2 separate regions of the Homo sapiens genome follow, and region 2 is linked to region 1. The links are contacts of gene promoters, found by promoter capture Hi-C in human tissues and cell types (Jung and others, 2019). All regions are on one chromosome and are shown on one strand. Each heading gives the region's core, a stretch centred on a gene start or on the middle of the fragment in contact. The rest is flanking DNA. Distances are from core to core; before and after follow the strand shown. Region 1 holds the start of SSU72 (SSU72 homolog, RNA polymerase II CTD phosphatase). Region 2 overlaps GNB1 (G protein subunit beta 1).

The links. Contacts are between HindIII fragments. The study calls those that stand out against the background at their distance.
Region 2: a contact is called between a fragment that was not itself captured here and the fragment with the promoter of SSU72 in region 1, in 3 of the 25 tissues and cell types used here (dorsolateral prefrontal cortex, spleen and thymus).

Annotation. Positions count from the first base shown.
Region 1 is chr1:1,572,439-1,578,128 of GRCh38, forward strand. It overlaps SSU72 (SSU72 homolog, RNA polymerase II CTD phosphatase), which reads right to left and starts at 2,425. Exons shown (of 5, transcript NM_014188.3): 1 at 2,040-2,425. The coding sequence starts at 2,119. SSU72-AS1 (SSU72 antisense RNA 1) reads left to right here and starts at 2,509. Exons shown (of 1, transcript NR_197593.1): 1 at 2,509-4,633. RefSeq lists silencers at 1,909-1,988, 2,229-2,388, 4,048-4,217 and enhancers at 2,509-2,618, 2,629-2,698, 4,616-5,158. The HindIII fragment of the contact is 14,967 bases long and covers 1-5,690 here.
Region 2 is chr1:1,820,962-1,826,858 of GRCh38, forward strand. It overlaps GNB1 (G protein subunit beta 1), which reads right to left. Exons shown (of 12, transcript NM_002074.5): 3 at 4,436-4,538. The coding sequence starts at 4,492. Among named protein-coding and RNA genes, the nearest start is that of NADK, 45 kb to the left of the region's middle. RefSeq lists an enhancer at 5,047-5,897. The HindIII fragment of the contact is 4,641 bases long and covers 161-4,801 here.

The DNA of each region.
Region 1 (5,690 bases), core at 1,175-3,674:
TTCTACTCCAACTTTATTTTATTTATGTATTTATTTGAGATGGAGTCTTGCTCTGTCGCCCAGGCTGGAGTGCAGTGGCATGATCTCGGCTCAATGCAAGCTCCGCCTCCTGGGTTCATGCCATTCTCCTGCCTCAGCCTCCCGAGTAACTGGGACTGCAGGCGCCCGCCACCACGCCCGGCTAATTTTTTTGTATTTTCAGTAGAGACGGGGTTTCATCGTGTTAGCCAGGATAGTCTCAATCTCCTGACTTTGTGATCCGCCCATCTCGGCCTCCCAAGGTGCTAGGATTACAGGTGTGAGCCACTGCGCCCGGCCTACTCCATCTTTGTTATGCAGGTACAGCAGAAAATCTTGAACAAAGGATCACCAAGGAGAACCAGCAGAACCAGAAGGTCTCCAGCCCATTTGTTATTCCAATTAACAATAATTTTGTCTTGGGGGGGGGGGGGTGAGCCTTGCATTGTTTTGCTTAAATGTATCAAATTTTTACAGGTAACTGCAGTTTATAAATGAAGATCCAGCACAATGTAATTCTAGCACATTTCTAGTTTTAAAAACAACCTTTGGCCGGATGCGGTGGCTGACGCCTGTAATCCCAGCACTTTGGGAGGCCGAGGCGGGCAGATCACCTGAGGTCAGGAGTTTGAGATTAGCCTGGCCAGCATGGTGAAGCTCCGTCTCTACTAAAAATACAAAAAAAGCCGGGCGCAGTGGCTCACGCCTGTAATCCCAGCACTTTGGGAGGCCGAGCGGGCAGATCACGAGGTCATAAGATCAAGACCATCCTGGCTAAGATGATGAAACTCCGTCTCTACTAAAAATACAAAAAAAAAAAAAAATTAGCCGTGCCTGGTGGCCGGTGCCTGTAGTCCCAGCTACTCGGGAGGCTGAGGCAGGAGAATAGCTCGATCTCGGGAGGCACAAGTTGCAGTGAGCCGAGATCGCGCTACTGCACTCCAGTTTGGGCGACAGAGCAAGACTCTGTCTCAAAAAAAAAAAAAAAAAAAAAAAAAAAGAAAGAAAAGAATAAAGAGAAAGAATCAGCAGATCATGAACACTTGACACTGATTTTTGGGGGGTGTTTTTTGGTCTCCAACTCCTGACTTCAGGTGATCCGCGTGCGTCGGCCTCCCAAAGTGCGGGGACTACACGCGTGAGCCACCGTGCCTGGCCCACGTGACACTGTTAAAAACGGAAAAAAAAGGGGGACTGTTAATTTTCCCAAGTTGCTCAGGAAAGTTATAGCTGGACTGCGAGAAGAGAAGCGAAACACTGTTTTCATTTAAAGTTCACGTAGGTAACTTTGGAGGTAAAAAAGCCATTTCAACTTTCTTACTATCAAAGTTGACACATACCAAATTTTAACTGTAAGTCAAGTGGTCAGTTTCTCAGTTTGCTATGTGACTGAACAAAAAACTTGTTATCAAGCAGGAATAAACTTTCATTAGACATACGCTACGCAAGAGTCACAGGCGGCCAGTTAGCAGGGAATATAAACTAGCAGAGCCAAACCAAGTCCACGTTGTATTCCAGAAACTACCGGTTGGAGGCGTTCCAGGGAGGAAGAGAGGATCTTTCGCAAAAAAAAAAAAAGAAGAAGAAGTAGCAAACACACAAATCCATGGCATTAAAAAAAGAGACCGCTTTGTTATTTACAACATCGTGGTATGCCGTGATTGTGTTGCGCGCCGTTTCCAGGGAAGGTGGCCAACGACGCACACGAAATACCATGATCGGCCGCCGCCGCGCAGCCCCTCGCCGCGGACGCTACCCTCGCCCCCCGGGCCCGGCCTCGGAGAGCTCGAAGGACCACCGGACAGCGGGCGCCTCGTCCCGGAACCTGCCTTCCCTGTGATGCCCACCCGCGTGTGGACTACGCGCGCTGCCGTCCAGCTGCCATCCCAACCAGCCGACCCACGAGCGCGGCCCGGCCCGGCTTCCTCTCAGGGGTCCTGGCGCGGGCCAGGGGGAACCGGGGAGGAGGGAGGGCCGGTCGCCGGAGCAGAGCGCGCGGGGACAGGGTGGAGCCCAACTACCTGAGGATGTTGTGCGCCTCCATGCTCCGGTTCTGGTTGCTCGAGCACACCACCGCCACCCGCAGCGGGGACGACGGCATGGCGGCGGCCGCAAATCCCGCGGCTCTCCCGCTTGGGTTCCCACCCTACCGCGGCGCTTCCGCGCGAACAAAATGGCGGCCGCGGTGGCCGGAAGCGGGCGACGCGAAACGACGGCGCCGGCGGTGTAGCGTGCGGCGACTGCGCGGCGGCCTCCCCGCCCACCCTGGGCGCCGGGCCGCGGACGGAGCGCAGGCACTGGCCTTCGGGCGCGCTGCACTCGGCGAGGCCGGGGGCGGCCAACGCCGCGCCGGCCCCCGGCGTCCGCAGCAGAGACCCGCACTCCACAAGGCCCGGCTGAGCGTCACGGCGCCAAGCGGCGGCGTCCTGACATCAGCACCCCGCGCCGGCGCCTAGTGTGACGCGACGACGTGCGGAACAACAGGACGTCATAAGGTGTCGCCGCCGCCTTTGGGAGCGATGCGAAACGCCGCGCTTGCCGGAGATAGCATTGAGGGCCCTTCCGCGGCCCGGCGTTTCGTCTCTTGGGACGATTTTGTGCGTTCCCTCGGTCCCCGTGGGGCCCATAGTCCTCACTTCTGCCACCCCAGAGTCGTCGCGCTTCACTAGACCCGCTCCCTCCACTGTCCCGGAGGCCCACAGACATTCCCGCATTCTGAGGCTCGCTCCCGTCCCGTGCCGCTGTTACCGGCCTCCGGCCCCGGCTCATACAAGCAGGAGCACATCGCTCTTTTATGAAAGCCCTTCAACATTTAACGTTTAAATGCGAGGGCCGACCTGTGACAGACCTGGTTGGGAGTGCACGTCGACTAGGATCTTCCTCGCCTCGGGCTTCCTTGGAGAGGCCGCCGGCTGGTCTGAGATTTGGGTCCAGTTACAGTAAATCCAGTCAACGCGAGTGTGTCATTCCCCAGCTATGCCTGTCTGCCTGGATGCAGCCTCGCGGTGGACAGTGGGCTGATGTTTTGCCGTGGGAGCGCCACGGACGGGAGAGGGAGTGATAATGATTGTCAACCTAATAACAGGCTAACTGAAAATGATATTTATTTGGGAATAGGGCGTTGGCGAATATGCGTGCCATAGTAAACGATTTGCGCATTCAGGAAAGTAATGGTTTTTAAAGAAAAAATGAAGAGGAAGATAATGGTTTGGAAATAATTAACCTTGGCTACAAAGAACAGTAACAAGTGTACTCCCGGCCGGGCGCGGTGGCTCACGCCTGTAATCCCAGCACTTTGGGAGGCCGAGGCGGGCGGATCACGAGGTCGGGAGATCCAGACCGTCCTGCCTAACCCGGTGAAACCCCGTCTCTACTAAAAATACAAAAAATTAGCCGGGCGTGGTGGCGGGCGCCTGTAGTCCCAGCTACTCGGGAGGCTGAGGCAGGAGAATGGCGTGAACCCGGGAGGCGGAGCTTGTAGTGAGCCGAGATCGCGCCACTGCCCTCCAGCCTGGGCGACAGAGCCAGACTCCGTCTAAAAAAAAAAAAAAACAAGTGTACTCCCGTTCCAGGGTTGGACAGGCAGTTGCTGGGCAGCTGTCCTTGCTGAAGTATTTTTTGTGTAAGATTGCCTTAGTGCAAGGTTGTGGTTTTTGCAGAATCTTGTGATAGTTTTTCTTATTATTGATTCATGAGAATTCTCCATGGCCTTTCCCAGCTGTCTTTGTCAAGGTATTTTTTAAACATAAGTGAGTCCACTTTTATTTGACAACTTGGGTATTTTCCCCTTTTGATTGAGATCTTTCTCCAAATGCATCACTAATGAGTCATCCTGTAATTAGGTTTTGATAGTCCCCGTGCTGGGATGAACTTGTCCCAGATAGCTGGTCTGGTCCCACACTGGAGAGAGTGGCTGCTGGGAGTCATTGTCAAAACCCTTTTTTACCATATTTGAGCATCAAAGGAGGTTTGAAGGGTGTGGCTCTCAGGCTAAGTCTAACCTGGAGTCCATTATTAACTTCAACTTTTGTCACTTCTGTAGTCTTTCTATCATCTCAAAGTGCTGTGTCAGCATTATTCTGTTAGAAATTGTACTTGTAGCCGGGCGCGGTGGCTCACGTCCGTAATCCCAGCACTTTGGGAGGCCGAGGCGGGTGGAACACGAGGTCAAGAGATCGAGACCATCCTGGCCGACATGGTGAAACCCTGTCTCCACTACAAATACAAAAGTTAGCCGGATGTAGTGGTGCGCACTTGTAGTCCCAGCTACTCAGGAGGCTGAGGCAGGAGAATCACCTAAACCCAGGAGGCGGAGGTTGCTATGAGCTGAGATTGTGCCTATGCAGTTCACCCTGGCAACAGAGTGAGATTCCATCTCAAAAAAATAAAAAAAAAGAAATTGTCCTTTTGCAAAATATGGCAATGAATAAGTTTAAAAGGGGAAAATACAAGGTAAAATCAATAATAATATGACTATCCCAGTTTGCATATTGGTTTTGACCCATGAACCTAGGCTTAAAGGAAAGCAATTAAAAAGAAAAAAATTAGAAAACAAAAATAGAAAAATAGAGATTAAAGGAAGCCAATTGAATAAATAAAATGGCCATAGAAATTACACGAGACTTGTAACCATGTGCCTGTTTTCTTTCTGTGTGTAAATGGATCTCAGTGTTCCAGAGGAATTTACCCACATACAGCATATAGTATTGACATACTTATTTAATACCTTATTTAACCAATAGGTACTAAAGATCTCTTAGGTCAGGTTTTTGTGAAGTTACCAGCAGAAGCTATTGATTGTGAAATGTCAGTTATACCATTGATGGCAGTGGCAGCCTCTCTTGAGTGGCTGCTGGGAAGATGCTGGCTACAGCAGGGGAGGCTCAGCTGGGACTCTGTGCTCCACTGAGCATGTGGGAGCCCTGCCCCCTTCCAAGTTGGCAGGACAGGAGCCCCACCCTCCTGGGAGCAGCTGCATCTGCCCAGCCACGGCTGTGGACCCAGGTATCCCTGCAATCCCAGGGCTGGGAAGCCACCCCACCTGCCCCCGAAAGCTCAGAAGTGCCTCCAGCTGCTACCTGGCCTCTCCTGACTCCCGACAAAGCTGAAGCCAAGCCCAGGCGCTGTTGCAACCCAGCCAGGTGTGCACACACTGAGGGCAGTGCTAGCATGCCAGCCCCTTGCTGCCTCGGCCCGCTCTGGACTTTGAGTGCTCACAAGCATGGGAGCAAGGCCAAGGAGGGGCTGAGGGCGGCTCAGCCCAGTCCTGTAGGCGACCCTTGACCTGAACAGCCTGGGTCCTGTAGATGACATGATTGATGGCAGTAGGAGGCACACAGGCTCCTGGGTGGAAAGGGGTGGGTGTCCAGTGAAGACCCCCATTAAAGCTAGGGACTTCCTGAAACATGGGGGCTGGGCTGCCAGTTCTGGGTGGAGTCTGCCGTCCAGAATGAGATTTATGGTGCTTTTTCTGGGCCCGTCCATGGCTGCCCATGGGCCAATCAGTATACACTTTCTCCCTTCTGAAGCCCATAAAAATCCCACTCAGCTATACTCACAGAGATGTCAGGACTACCAGCTGTGGGAAGGATCTACCCACTTGGGATCCCCTCAATTTGTGGGGATCACCTGCCTGTGGGAAGGAGCTACTTACTCCGGGTCTCCTCTCCGCT
Region 2 (5,897 bases), core at 1,231-3,730, 250 kb after region 1:
AGAAAAAGTCTTCAAGTTCTTTCAGATTAATTTCCAGTTTAATGGACTCCTGTAGATACATATTATGATGTCCACTTAAACCAGAGATGAACATATCCAAGCCACTCATCAGTTGATTTCTCATTCTTTTTGGATTTGTCAAATGACACAGTAACACACTTACTTTGGGGTTTCATCCTAAATTAAAGCCTGGGCCCTGCTCAGCATGGAGTCGCTGGACATTTTGGACCGGGCATCCATTGCAGCTGCCTCTCGCACGAATGGACCCTGCTCCCTTGCACTGGCTGGCATGCCGCTCCAGAACACATCTACGCCTGTGCATCCTGTGGAGCTTTCCTTACTCCATCAGCTACTCTGTGTATTTTAAGGCACACCATGTTTTAATCAGAATCCCTCTGAGAGCCTGTGTTTCCTCAATAATAATCAAAAGGAGCATGCAAGGTCCTTTAAGGGTCTTTTGGCTGAAAAACAAATCTAAGAAAGAAAACAGCCCCTTTTAGAATCATCTACAATTTCTTGTTTGATTCACTATGCTCTGCATTCTTTAACAAGCACGTATTCCTTGGGCAATCAGGAAAAAATGTTCTACATTTTAAAAATAAGTCTTCCTTTCCCATTTGGGGTAAAAGGACTTCAACAGCTTTTGCTGTCCCTGTCTCGTGCAAAGGAACTAACACAGCGCGGTTCCTGGTACTTCGGAGACAAAGCAGCTAGGCGCCTCTCCTAGTGAACGTCCCACCGCGGGGGCCATGACCTGCCTGTGGCTGCTGCGCACAGCAAACGGAACCAGGAGACTTGGGACAAAAACAGTGTCAAATATCTCAATTAAAATGTATTAATTACACATTGCATAATAAATAATATTTTAGATATACTGCCTTAGATAAAATTTGTTGGGCCAGGCATGGTGGTTCACACCTGCCAGCACTTTGGGAGGCTGAGGCGGGAAGATCCCTTGAGCCCTAGGAGTTCAAGACCAGCTGGGGCAACATGGTGGACTCTGTCTCTACAAAATTGAAAAAAACCAGCCAGGTGTGGCAGCATGCTCCTGTAGTTCCAGCTACTCGGGAGGCTGCAGTGAGCTGTGATCGCACCACTGCTCTCCAGCTTGAATGACTGACAGAGACCCTGTCTCAAAACACACAAACAAAAAAATGAAAAAAACCTTGTTAGGGTTAATTCCACCCGTTTCTTTTCATTCTTTTTCAAAAGACAGGGCCTTTCTACCTTACAAAGGCTGGTCTCAAGCTTTTGGGCTCATGCAATCCTCCTGCCTTGGTATCCCAAAGTACTGGGATTAACGGCATGAGCCACGGTGCCTGGCCGTCTCTCTTTTTACTTTTTTTTTTTTTTTTTTTGAGACGGAGTCTCGCTCTGTCTCCCAGGCTGGAGTGTGCAGTGGCGCGCTCTCGCCTCACTGCAAGCTCCGCCTCCCAGGTTCACGCCATTCCCTGCCTCAGCCTCCCAAGTAGTTGGGACTACAGGCGCCCACCACCACCACACCTGGCTAATTTTTTTTGTATTTTTTTTCTTTTAGTAGAGACGGGGTTTCACCGTGTTAGCCAGGATGGTATCGATCTCCTGACCTTGTGATCCACATGCCTCAGCCTCCCAAAGTGCTGGGATTACAGGCGTCAGCCACCGCGCCCGACCTCTTTTTACATTTTTTATGTGGCAACAAGAGCATGTGGGGAATGTCACGTGACATTTGTGCCAGCCCAAGAGGGAGCCCCCTGTGCAAGAAGGCCCTGGGGAATTCACAACGTGACAGGGTCCAAACCTCGGAAGGAGGTGCAACAGTTCCTTTTGGCCTTAATTTTTTAAATTTGGGTGTCTTTCACCTGTGCCATACAAGCTCTTTCCATCTGCTATGAATAGATCCAAGTCCACTATTTGTGAACAACTTATAGCTGTCAGAAAAACAAAATTTCTTCAAATATGCCAAATCACCCTACTATTTAAGACATTTTCAGGGTAAACTTTAAAATTCTGATTTCTAGGCCGGGCGTGGTGGCTCATGCCTGTAATCCCCGCACTTTGGGAGGCCGAGGTGGGCGGATCACGAGGTCAGGAGATCGAGACCATCCTGGCTAACACGGTGAAACCCCATCTCTACTAAAAGTACAAAAAATTAGCCGGGTGTGGTGGCGGGCGCCTATAGTCCCAGCTCCTCAGGAGGCCGAGGCAGGAGAATGGTGTGAACCCAGGAGGAGGAGCTTGCAGTGAGCTGAGATCGCGCCACTGCACTCCAGCCTGGGGAACAGGGCGAGACTGTCTCCAGAAAAAAAAAAAAAAAAAAAAAAAAATCTGATTTCTATAAGATGAAATATAGTCTCAAAAGCAGGTGGTAAAGAGCTGAGAGTGTTCTGAACCCCCCCAAAAACCCAGTTAGATTATTATTAAATAACAACACTTTGCTTTTCTTTTTTACTTGCCAAAAACCATGCTGACTTAAAATGAACAGCAGAAGCTTAAGTATTAAGTCAGGCAAAATTTGAATACCTTTTGGTTTTATTTAAATAGATATTTCAGAGAATAATTTTATATCAAACTAAATATTTCAGAACACATTTGATTAATTTTGGTGGAGGGGACATGTTAAACAAGTCTGATCAGAGCAAACTATTAAAAAAATCTAAGTCTTCCCTATTCACCTATGTAAGATCTTTTAAATGTTAAGATTTAAAATTCTTACAGTAGAGGATACTTTGTTTTCTCTTTGGCTGTAAATCTCAGAGAATTCCATTATTTTTTCTCAAGTTCAGGAACAAGTTGCCTAAAATTATGTTGGTGTTTCTCTCTCCAAATCCTGGTGGGCTTTCTAAACATGTAATTGGCCGTTTAAAAGGAAATACTTGACTTCATCCTTGCACTGGAGTCAGAAAAATAAACTGTTGTTTTTTATTTTATTTTACTGTATTTTGAGAAGGTGTCACTTTGTCACCTAGGCTGCAGTGCAGTGGTGCAATCACAGCTTACTATACAGCCTCAACCTCCTGGGCTCAAGTGATCCTCCTGGGTAGCTCAGACTACAGGCGCGCACCACCATACCCAGCTTATAAACTGTTATTTAGGTATGTACTGAATGTCATCAGCTTCCTGTACAGCGACACTCTGAAGAACAGCTAAAGCTTGACAGAGCAAACAAGAGTAAGAGAAAGCTCTTACATCAAATGGACAAAACCTAAAAACATACTGAAGACGTGGTTTTTCCTGAGAAGTCTGCCTCTTTTTCTCTTACTCTTCACATCAGCAGTTTCAGAAAGGAAACACATACTTGCATTAAATGTTTCTCTATAAAATATTTACTAGAAGTACTGCTTCACAAAAGTAGGAGCAGCAGAATGAATTCCATTTAGACCTACTGCTCCTCCCTTTTCAGAAAGTTATGAGGCAAGAGAATTGCTTGAAAGAGGTTGCAGTGAGACGAGATCGCGCCACTGCACTCCAGCCTGGGCACAACAGAGTGAAACTCTCTCTCAAATAAAAGTTTATGAACTCTGCAATTTAACATCCTACATCAGTCACAGACTGGAATTTAATGTTTTAGAATTCTGTGAAAGGTATTCTTTTTACAGTGCAGTTTATTTACACACGGTAAATAAATTTATCTTCAATTTTTTTTTTATTTTTCAGGGTCTCACTCTGACGCCCAGGTTGGAGTGCAGTGGCACAATCTCGGCTCACTGGATCCTCTGCCTCCCGGGTTCAAGGGATTCTCTGACTTTAGCCTCCTGAGTAGCTGGGAATACAGGCACACACCACCACACCCAGCTAATTTTTATATTTTTTGTAGAGATGGGGGTTTCACTATGTTGCCCTGGCTGGTCTCGAACTCCCGACCTCAGGTGATCCACCCGCCTTGGCCTCCCAAACTGCTGGGATTCCAGGCATGAGCCCCCCACACCCGGCCTCTATCTTGGATTTAGATATATCTGCTCCATCTAGCAGTCTATCAGAAGCTGTAGATTCCAATCATCACCGCTAGGGAAGATCTTTCAAAATTAGGAAAAAATACATCAGATATACCTGAAATACTTTTTTTATTGTTGTTAATACTCTTACTTTTAAGCAAGTTTTCTGCTGTCAATAGTCCCAATATTCAGGGGAGGGAGGTAGATATCACAGTCTGATCAGTGGCCCAGGGTATCACAAATTTTCAAGGTTATGATAAAGAATGCAAAAGACACTTATAAATTCTACGGAGACATCTGGTGTATATTCAAATAACAAATTGTATACAGAAAGCAAAATCCCAAAAACAATGTACTAGGCTAAGTATCTAGATCTATAATTAGTACATCCTGGGCCAACTAAGATTCAATTTCATATAAAACATAGAACAAGTCATCCTGTAAACCATTTTTCCTAAAACAAGTAACATCTAACCTGAAACTCAAATGATTAATAAAACCAAGCACACACAACTACATACTCGAATCTGGTTCTTAAGTTGCTCGGCCTCCTGCCGTAACTGGTCAAGCTCACTCATCTTCCGATCTTAGTGCTCTTCAATGCCACCTTCAAGAATGTGAGATCTGAAACAGAAAGACAAGCACAATCAATAAACAACTGTTGGATAATTTAATGAAGCAGGTGAGAAAAGTAAATTGAAAGTTTAAGGTGGGCGTGGTGGCTCAAGCCTGTAATCCCAGCACTTTGGGAGGCCGAGGCGGGCAGATCACGAGGTCAGGAGATCGAGACCATCCTGGCTAACACGGTCAAACCCCTTCTCTACTAAAAATACAAAAAAATTAGCCAGGCATGGTGGCAGGCGCCTGTAGTCCCAGCTACTTGGGAGGCTGAGGCAGGAGAATGGCGTGAACCTGGGAGGCAGAGCTTGCAGTGAGCCGAGATGGCGCCAGTGCACTCCAGCCCGGGCTTCACAGCAATACTCCGTCTCAAAAAAAAAAAAAAGGAAAGTCTGAGAACTATGGTCTCATTACAAACCAGAGAACTTTTCTTCAGCATTCATCAGAACTTATACAATGGCTAAGTAGGGCCAGGTAAATAAAATATAATTATGATTATTTATTGGCTTTGCATAATATTACAATGTCTAAAATACTACTCAACATATGCTGGTGGGTTATAAAAAGAAAAATCTGTTAAGCATTTTTCATAAAAAAATCTAGGTCTCCCTATAAATCCAAGAACATAAGACTGACATTTAGGCCAGGTGTGGTGGCTCATGCCTGTAATCCCAACAATTTGGGAGGCCAAGGCGGGTGGATCACTTGAGGTCAGGAGTTCAAGACCAGCCTGGCTAACATGGTGAAACCCGATCTCTACTAAAAATACAAAAATTAGCTGGGCATGGTGGCACACGCCTGTAATCCCAACTACTTGGGAGGCTGAGGTAGAAGAATCATTTGAACCTGGGAGGCAGAGGTTGCACTGAGCCAAAATCACACCACTGCATTCCGGCCTGGGTGACAGAGCGAGACTCCATCTCAAAATAAAAAAAATAAAACCTGACACTTAGGATAGCTATCGCATGAAGACCTAGGGGAAGTTACTTCAGGGAACGGGGGTGAGTGGCAACCTGGCAACCAAGAATCTCAAAGCCACCTCATCTCAGTAACCATGAACCGCTACTGGTCAAAAGCTGTCAGGATGCTCACACAGCAATCCTGAGCACACAGGGTGTGTCCAGCAGTTTTTTGGCTCAGGGACAACCCACTCTCCCACCCAAGTGAGCCCTGGGATCCCAGGAGGCTCAGAAACAACACCTTGATCCTTATAGGTGCAGGCTAAATTAGGCTCAGTACAAGCCGCCCTGCCTTCTCGCCCTACTCACGTTAGACAATATTCCTGAAATCAAAGTAAAAACTAAATCACCTTGTTAAACAAGAGACTTATTTTCCCAAGAGAATGTCATAAATGGAGGCTGCATT